Linked DNA regions of Homo sapiens: all the other regions are linked to region 2. Evidence: promoter capture Hi-C in human tissues and cell types (Jung and others, 2019). All regions are on one chromosome and are shown on one strand. The core of a region is centred on a gene start or on the middle of the fragment in contact, and the rest is flanking DNA. Distances in the headings are between cores, read along the strand shown.

What was found. The method cuts DNA at HindIII sites, captures the fragments that hold promoters and counts their contacts. A contact is called where the count stands out against the background at its distance.
Region 1: a contact is called between a fragment that was not itself captured here and the fragment with the promoter of DNAL4 in region 2, in 1 of the 25 tissues and cell types used here (spleen).
Region 3: a contact is called between a fragment that was not itself captured here and the fragment with the promoter of DNAL4 in region 2, in 3 of the 25 tissues and cell types used here (dorsolateral prefrontal cortex, heart left ventricle and pancreas).

The regions. Positions count from the first base shown.
Region 1 is chr22:38,444,663-38,447,590 of GRCh38, forward strand. The region is part of intron 1 of KCNJ4 (potassium inwardly rectifying channel subfamily J member 4); the gene reads right to left. Among named protein-coding and RNA genes, the nearest start is that of KCNJ4, 9.1 kb to the right of the region's middle. The HindIII fragment of the contact is 6,980 bases long and covers 1-2,928 here.
Region 2 is chr22:38,792,573-38,795,477 of GRCh38, forward strand. It overlaps DNAL4 (dynein axonemal light chain 4), which reads right to left and starts at 1,571. Exons shown (of 4, transcript NM_005740.3): 1 at 1,496-1,571. RefSeq lists a silencer at 1,313-1,762. The HindIII fragment of the contact is 13,707 bases long and covers 1-2,905 here.
Region 3 is chr22:39,131,590-39,134,311 of GRCh38, forward strand. It overlaps CBX7 (chromobox 7), which reads right to left. Exons shown (of 6, transcript NM_175709.5): 6 at 1-2,459. The coding sequence ends at 2,302. Among named protein-coding and RNA genes, the nearest start is that of CBX7, 20 kb to the right of the region's middle. RefSeq lists enhancers at 1-398, 2,038-2,722. The HindIII fragment of the contact is 4,160 bases long and covers 1-2,722 here.

The DNA of each region.
Region 1 (2,928 bases), core at 108-2,607, 350 kb before region 2:
GGAGGAACAGTCAGCCCCTGCCCATGACTCAATGCTGGGCCACAGCCCCAAGGGACTGTCACTGACAGAACGCCTGCCATGGGGGGGGCCACGGGCTGCATGCCCCTCTTTACTGCTGACCACCTTCCCACTGGCTCCTCAGGCCAGAGAATCTCCAACTCCAGCCGACCCCCATCCATCCATCCATTCATTCATCACCCTAAATGTCCCCTGAGCTGGAACAGCATCTGCCTTCCTGCCAGGTGCCAGATGTGTCTCAACACAGCGCAGTGCCTTGCCTTGGAGGGCGGTCTGTAAATAATTGAGTGAACATTTATTGAGCACCTACTGTATGCTGAAGGGAAGCAGGTAAGTCACAAACCGGCTTTGCTGAGCTCCGTGCACGCATGTGTGCGTGCATGCGTGTGTGTGCGTGTGTGTGTGTGAAAGGGCATAAAGAGAAGGTCCTAGGAAGATGAGGGCAAGCAGGAGGGCACAAGGACAGAGCAGGGCTGGGCCTGGGCTGAGCGGAAAGCAGGGAATTTGGCCCGGCCTGGGATCTAGGCCCTGGGGAGAGGTGGTGGCTCTGGAGGAGCATGGGTGCCTGGACCTGGGTGGTCCACTGAGCAAGGGACAGGCGGCTACTTCTGAGGGCAGGACAGCAGCATCCTGGAAGTTGTGGCACCTATGTCTTTAGGAACCAAACATCCAGGGAAATCGGAACCTGAGCATCAGAACCTCTATCAGGGCGCCTCCTGGATTTCTACACAGGACAGTAGCTTTCAAGTTTTTTGACCAAAATCCGTAGTAAAAGCAAACATCCTGTTTGTTATTTTAACTTACTTTATATTTATTTTTTAGAGACAGAGTCTTGCTCCAATGCCCAGGCTGGAGTGCAGTGATGCGATCACAGCTCAATTGCAACCTCCTGGGTTCTTGCCATCCTCCCGCCTCGGCCTCCCAACGTGCTGGGATTACAGGCGTGAGCCACTGCACCCGGCTATATATTTAAAGCTGAAGTAAGAGCGTCACAAAATAATATTTACCCTCACTACATGCATAGTATTTTGAAATTTTCTTTTTAATTTCATTTTCGGAAAACAAGTAGTGCAACTCACTAAGTCAATTTCCCAACCCACTAACGGGGCAGGACCTGTGTGCAATTTTAAAGCACTGGCCTGAGTGGGGGTTAGGAGCGGTGAAATGGGATCCGGCGTGTGTCTTGAAGCTGTGACGGGCGGTGCTTGGACTCCGGGCTTTGTGACACACAACCATGTGGGGAATTGTTGGATGTTATGGGGGAATACTGGGAAAAGTCTGTTAGACCCCCCAGCTCACAGGACCGCCACTCTGCAGCCCAAATAACAGGGACTCTTTGGGGTCTGGTTCCAATTTTTTCCCCGGGTCTTTTAATAGAGCCCCCTCCTGCCCTGATAACAGATGCCATTCAGCAGTTGCTTACACATCTCCCAGGACAGGGCGCTCACCCACTTCTCAGGCAGCCCACTTGACTGTGAGGAGTAAGCTCTGCCGGGCTGCTGATGTAGCTGCTAAGTGGGGCCCCGCCCGTGGCTGGCTGGCCATTCTCCTCTGTCCTCTAGCCTGTTGTCTCAGGGAGCCGGGACAGCTCTGGCAAGTGGTCCTCTCTCTGCCCCACCCAGTTCTCTCTCTCTGCTGCCCAGCCACTGCCGGGTGTCTGTTGGGGGCAGCCTTGGAGCCCAGCCAGAGAGAGGCCCTTTCCAAGGTCAGGTGGGCTCAGGATCTGAAGCCTCATGGCGGGGCTGGCACTCAGCCAGCCTTGCCCACCAAAGCAGTTCTGGGGGCCTGGGTGAGGGAGGGCCGGGGGAGGCTCAGCTGTCCAGAGAAGTGGTACCCCAAGGCAGTGGCTGGTGATGGGGGTCTGGAAATCAGGCCCAGCAGTGCCCTTGAGTGGTTGGGTCACAAAGTAGTTCATATCAACGAGCTATGATACATTCATTCACTCACAGGCTCACAGGATCTTCCCAGTCACCCTCAGAAACAGATGCAAAGGGCCAGGCACGGTGGCTCATACCTATAATCCCACCACTTTGGGAGGCTGAGGTGGATGGATCACATGAGGGTCAGGAGTTCGAGACCAGCCTGGCCAACATAGTGAAACCCCATCTCTACTAAAAATACAAAAATTAACCGAGCATGGTGGTGCGCACCTGTAGTCCTAGCTACTTGGGAGGCTGAGGCCAGAGAATTGCTTGAACTGGGAGGCGGAGGTTGCAGTAAGCTGAGATCGCGCCACTGCTCTCCAGCTTGGGCAACAGAGCGAGACTCCATCTCAAAAAAAAAAAAAAAAGAAACAGAGGCAAACGCCCACCCTTACGGGGCAGGGGGTAAAGGCTCAGAGAGGTGAAAAACCTGCCCCAGATTCCGCAGCTGCTAAGGGGTGGAGCTGGACATGAACCCAGATCTTCTGTTTCCCAGTCACGGGCCTCGCCTGGGACAACTGAGGCTGGAGGAGCCTTGGGGTAGGGGAGGGGGAGGTGGGCCACTCCTCCTGTCTTGCTGAGAGCAGGCTGGGTTTCTCTGCCCCAGAGGGCAGGGCGAAGGAAAGAGGGAGTCAGGGATCAATTAGCAGAACCTTCCAGACACGAGTGGGCTTCCCCGGAGATGGGGAGCTCCCCGTGAGGAACAGTGAGGAGGGACTTGAGGCCCATTTCTCAGGATAACTGCAGAAGGGTATCCATGGGCACGAGGTTTGAAGGATGCCCAAAGCCCCTCTGCCTGCTCCATTTCACCCCCAGCCAGGGCCTCTCCAGCCTGTGCCCACCACCTCCCCTGTATGGCCCCAAGGAGCCCCTAATTGCGGACCCCATCCCATTTGTCTCCCAGGCTGAGTGGTACCTTCACACTCACAGGGCAGAGGGTCCTGGGCTTCTCAGGCCTATGAGGAGAGGGGAGGCTCCTGGGGGAGTC
Region 2 (2,905 bases), core at 321-2,820:
CGCTCCTGGCCTTTATTTTTTATTTTTAACATTTTTAACTTTTTTGTTAAAACTCAGACACAGATACACTAGCCTAAGCCTACACAGGGTCAGGATGCTTAGTGTCACTATCTTCCACTACCACATCTTGTCCCGCTGGACGGTCTTCAGGGCAATAACACGCATGGAGCTGTCATCTCCTATGATAACAAAGCCTTTTGCTTGAATACCTCCTGAAGGACCTATCTAAGACTGTTTACGGTTAAATTTTATTTTCTTATAAGTAGGAGGAGTGTACACTGTAAAATAACAATAAAAGTGTAGGATAGTAAACACATAAACAAGTAACAGTCATTTATTACCATTATCAAGTATGATGTCCTGTACACAATTGTATGTGCTATATTTTATATGACTGGCAGCACTGTAGGTTTGCTTACACCAGCATCACCACACACGTGAGTCATGCATTTTGCTTTGACATTACGATAGCTATGTAACTAGGTGATAGAAATTTGTCAGCTCCATTATAACCTTAGGGCACCACCGTGGTATCTGTGGTCTTTCTTGACCAAAACGTTGTTATATGGTACATGACTGTATTTCAATCTCCATCTGTCCCCTCCCCACCCCTAAGTAACCCTAACCATGGAAGCCCAGGAGGAAGATCAGAGAGGGTCAACTGGAGAAATGACAGTTCATGCTGACCGGGTTGATAACATTTCCCAGAGAGGGAAAATGTGGTGAAGAGACAAAGGAAAGAAACTAACAAATACTGAATCTATACTGGACTGGACTCTGTACTTCATATTAGCCTCAGAATTACCAAAGGAGATGCACCGACGTATACTGATTTTACATATGCACTGATTAAAAGCGCAGGGAGGGTAGGTCTTGAGACTGGGAATCCAAATTAGGTTTGCCAAGTTATTTTCACAATACACGATACCTCCCATTGGGGAGCACATCCTCTCGGAAGCCTAAAGTTGGGTCAAAGAACAACGACATCCTAGAACGTCAGAGTGGAAGAGGCCTTAGAGATCACTCAACTCAACTTCTCATTTACAGATGGGGAAACTGAGGCCCAAACAGGGGAAATGACCAGCCCAGAATCCCAGTAAGTCGCCAACTCTCCAAGCCAAGAGCGGTCTGACCTAGTTGATGGCGACCCCGCGGGAGAGGGAATTACTCCGCGAAAGGTCGAGGGATCAAGGTGCTGGGGGAAGTCGGCTAAAGGGGGACGCGGGACCACGAAGCTGGGCAGGCCTTGGGTGGGTGGGGAAGAGCAGCCGGCAGAGTCGCGATGGCAAACCTGTCACGACAGAGCTCGCAGGTCCCGAAGTGGGGGTGAGGGTGGGGGTTGAGGATGGGAAGACCTGGGGCAGGGGAACAGCAGGCAGGAGACCGAGGTGGGGCCTCGGCGGCGGGCGAGGCCTCTTCCGCCCTGCGTTGCCTCCCGCCCTCCCTCCGGGCCGGCCCTCCCCGCCTGGCTGCCCGCCGCGCCCCGGGGCCTCACCTGCTCCTGCGGGGGCCGGAGCCGGGGCCGCAGCCAGCGAACCCCCGCCAGGGTTGTCAAGGAGCGAAACAAGAGTGTCTTAGCAACCAGCAAGGAAGTCCTGCCCCCTCACCGGACGTTGACGAGAATTTCACTTATTATTGGTGGATAAAAGTATCAATCAGAGTGAAAGGCCCTTATAAGTCAGGCGTTTGCAAGGACAGGGGCGTGGTTTAGAGGCCAGGGAGGCGGGACTTCACTTATAGTTGTCTTAAGCGTGCCCGAGGAGCAGGGGACACATTGAAGTTCTTTTTCTAGGGAAACAAACTTCGAAAAGCAGTACTGCCTTGGGAGGTTCTTTTAGTCACTTGAAATAACAAATGCAACTTGTTGGTGTCGTGACACTTAGCCACTACTTTATTGGGATCTGAAAAGCCTGATAATAACTAGCATTTTTGTAGGGCTGTACAATTAATATCTCACTTGATTCTCATTACAGTACTTTTAGGTGATAATATTCGTCATCCCATCTGAACTAAAGTTCAGAGAGGTTAAGTAACTTGGTAAAGGATGGAGGTAATCTCCCTGGAGAAGGAACCCAGGGGCTCCTTCCTCTGTGCCACACCCTTGTATGGTCACCTAGCTCTAGTCACTAGGAGACATTTGTACCACCTAATTTCAGACACAGTTGCCCAGAGCCTGCCTTTTCTTCCCCTTGGGAGGGAAAATTAATCCGAAAGTACGGAGAAGGAAAAGGGGAAAGGGGAAGAACTGGCGGATTCTATTATTTGATTGGTAGATCAAAGGGTCAGTTGGGTACTTCGTAGTTTAAACCTTTATTATTGTGATGAGTACTTGGGGTGAAACCCCACTGCCACATTTACTAGCATTGAAGCTGTCTTTGCCAAAATTATAACTGAGGAAATTATGACAGTGAAAGAGATCAGACCTAACCCACTCCATCTTGCCTTTCTAGCCTTTAAGCTGTCTTTGTTCATTCCTAGGCATAGGCTGAACGAACCTTGGGAAGGAATTTAGTTTATAGTTTTACTCTGAAACAAAATTGACAATAGCCCTTTCCCAAAAAGGCTCCCTTCCTGCCTTGGGACCAGTCTGCCTTTGTAGGACTAACAAATTAGCTACAACATTAGAAATTATGGTTTAGGGGTCACACAGCAGCCTCTGGCTGCAAGAGTCTGAACCTTCCCAAATTGCTCCTGGGGATAACATCACTATTGTAAAACCTAAGATCAGCGCTTGAGATATTTTGCAGACCCTGCGCTCGATGGATCAGCTGACACCACCCAGACCAGTAATGTGGCTCAAACAGTTCTGTGATCCCACCCAGGAACAGAAGACAGCAAGAAAACCTCACTTCGACCCCCTCAGTATTCCATCTTCGACTTAATCAATCAACACTCCTCGCTTGCC
Region 3 (2,722 bases), core at 217-2,716, 340 kb after region 2:
CACCCCTGGAGTTCAGCTCTCCCTGAGCCACGGAGTTCCCCATGGGCCATAAAGGGCTGAGTAAGAGGAAAGATGTGTCCTGCTGCTGCAGACAAAAGCAACTGCAGCACCCACACAGAAAGCCCCGTGAATCCACAGACCCACAGATTGCGCAAATAGTTCTTTGAAAGTGACCAGGAAGCAGGAAAAAGGTCCTATGTCCCCTGGGGGATGGGGAGCGTGACTTCTGCTGGAAGCTGCCAGCCATGTTCCAAAGTCATGGGCCAAAACATTCAACTAGAGACCCCCCACAACCCTCTATCATCTTTACCTCCGCTGGGCACCCCTCTCCTGGAAGAGTCCCCTCTGAACCCCAAGCTTCCCCTTCCCCTCCACAGGGCTCCACAGCTGGAGATGGGTGGTGATTCCTGCCGCTCCTTGTCCAGACCCACCCCACGTATTCCTCTAGATTCCATTCCCTGGGCTGGAGGTGAATCAGGTCATCCCGGAGGGGACTGTCCCCCAATGGAAGCACTGAATTGACCGTGGACAACTAAAGATCGAGGAGGAAGGAAAGAGAGACTCAGGGATCTGGGAAGCCTGTCAACAGAGCACCCCATGCAGAAAGGGCTGCAGGCTGTCTTTGGTTTGGGAACCAGGGAAGAAGGGATTTGGGGAAAGAATCACCCTCTCCTTGCCTCAGTAGACTCTGTGACTTCCTGAGGACACAGAGCAGAGCTGCGAGGAGGGCGGGCAGGTCTCAAACTTGCTGGCCGCACTCCACTCTTGGTGTGTGTTACCCTGACTCTGACAGCCAAGGAAAGACAGGGGAGCCGGCCTTTTCCATGCTCCCCTTGGGCCCCCCAATCTGGTTTTGTCTCCCCTACAGGACTGGAAGAGAGGGAGAAGTCACTCCTCACTGGCAGGGAAGCCACGGGCCCCCAGGACACCTTGTACAAACCAGAAAACAAGTGCACCTTGCCAGGGGTGGGCTGGGGCAAAGCCTGCCCATCACACAGCACAGCCTGACCTCAGAGAGGCACGGCAGAGGTCCCTCCACAGGAATACAGCTCAGCCCCAGCTGTGGCATTTAGGTTGGATGGGGAGGGGATGCAGAATGGAAGGAGGAAGGGGCTTAGGAGTCAAGGGCTGCCCTGAGAACGTGGTGGGACACTCCCTCCCTCCCTGACTGCCCACACCTGGGTTGGCTGAGTTGGAGGGGAGGGCAGAAAAAGAGGGGAATTGGAAGGGCTGAAAAGTCACCTGAGTCAGAAAGAACAAGAACCCCTCACGGGAGGAAGGACAGGGTCCAGACGTCTCAAAGCCTGTGCTGATACATCACACAACTTAGCAGACGCCTGCACACCCGCAGCCTGGCCCGGTGCAGCCGAGAAACCACATCTGTATGCCTGGAGCATGGGGTGCCATCGCACCTGTGCCAGACCCCTGCCCTCCACTGAAAGCCGCAAGCAGGTAGCAAGGTGCATGCAAGGTGGGGTGAGTGCAGGTGTGGTGGTGAGGTCTTTTGTGCTGTGAATCACCCCACGTTCGCCTGGCCAGGGTTTCTAACCCAGGTTCGCAAGGCCCATGTGGACACGTCTGCAGCCACACATGCTTTCACGGGGCACATGGGAACGTACACGCGAAGGGTAATGCGTGCACACCTGTGCAGCCAGGTGTGCATGAGCGTTTCTGCACAGGCCAGGTGATGAGGGGAGGGCAGAGCTCTCAGCAGAAGGGTCTCAGCGGCGCCTCCTCCCTGGGAAGGATAGAAGCCTCTCTGAAGGGGAAGGGACTCGCCCCAAGTAACCTCAACCCTTCCTCCTGCCCCTTCCTCCCGCCCCACTCACTTTTGGTCAAAACCAGCCTCCACAGCCCACCGCAAAGCCAGAGAGGAGAGTTCAAGGTAAAGACCCAATTGAAACAAGAGAAAAGGGGAAAACCAGCCAACCAGGCTGGGGTGGCCACTCAAGGGAGAGGGTTTGGGCCTTCCAATGCTCCTTTAACTCCCAGAACCAGCTGCTGCGTCACTAGAGGAGAATGATAATGGTGGTGTCCCGGGCAGGTGATCCTGTCCCCATCCTGCCCTGGGGGTGGTACCCCAACTCCCAGAGCAACTCTCTCCATCCCCAGCCTGAGGCCTCGTGGTAAACGTCCCTCAGAGAAAGGGCAGGTGGTGGGAGAGTAGTGGGATCTTCTCCCCTTTTGCTGCTCGGTATTTTTTTAAATAAAATAATTACCCCGCCCCCAACCCATCCCTATCTCTGGAAGTCCCACCCCAAGCCCAAAAGAAAACAGTTTAAGAAGAGTAAAAACGGTGATTCAGAACTTCCCACTGCGGTCTCGGAAGAAGCCCTCAGCTGCCTGGGCCTCGCGGAAGGTGACGGTGATGGAGTTGGCGGTGATGTCGGTCACGGTCACCTCACTTGAGGGGAGCGCAGGTGTCCAGGGAGGGGGCCCCTCGGCCAGGTCGGCATCTGCTGCAGCGTCAGACACACAGATGGGGGCAGCGTTGACAAGGTGGGAAGCCATGCAGACCACCCAACCCGACCCCAACTCCAGCTCCTCCTCTCTGTGTCTTCAGTCAGCTCAGGGCCTCACACAGGGCTGGACACTTGGGAGGAGGGCACTGGGTGCATCCTCCCCACCTAGACAAGAGCTCAGCCAGAGCGGGACGACAGGAGGAGCCCTGGGCTAGTGTTGGGCCCTGAGCCCAGACCCGACTGGCCCCACAAAGCACTAC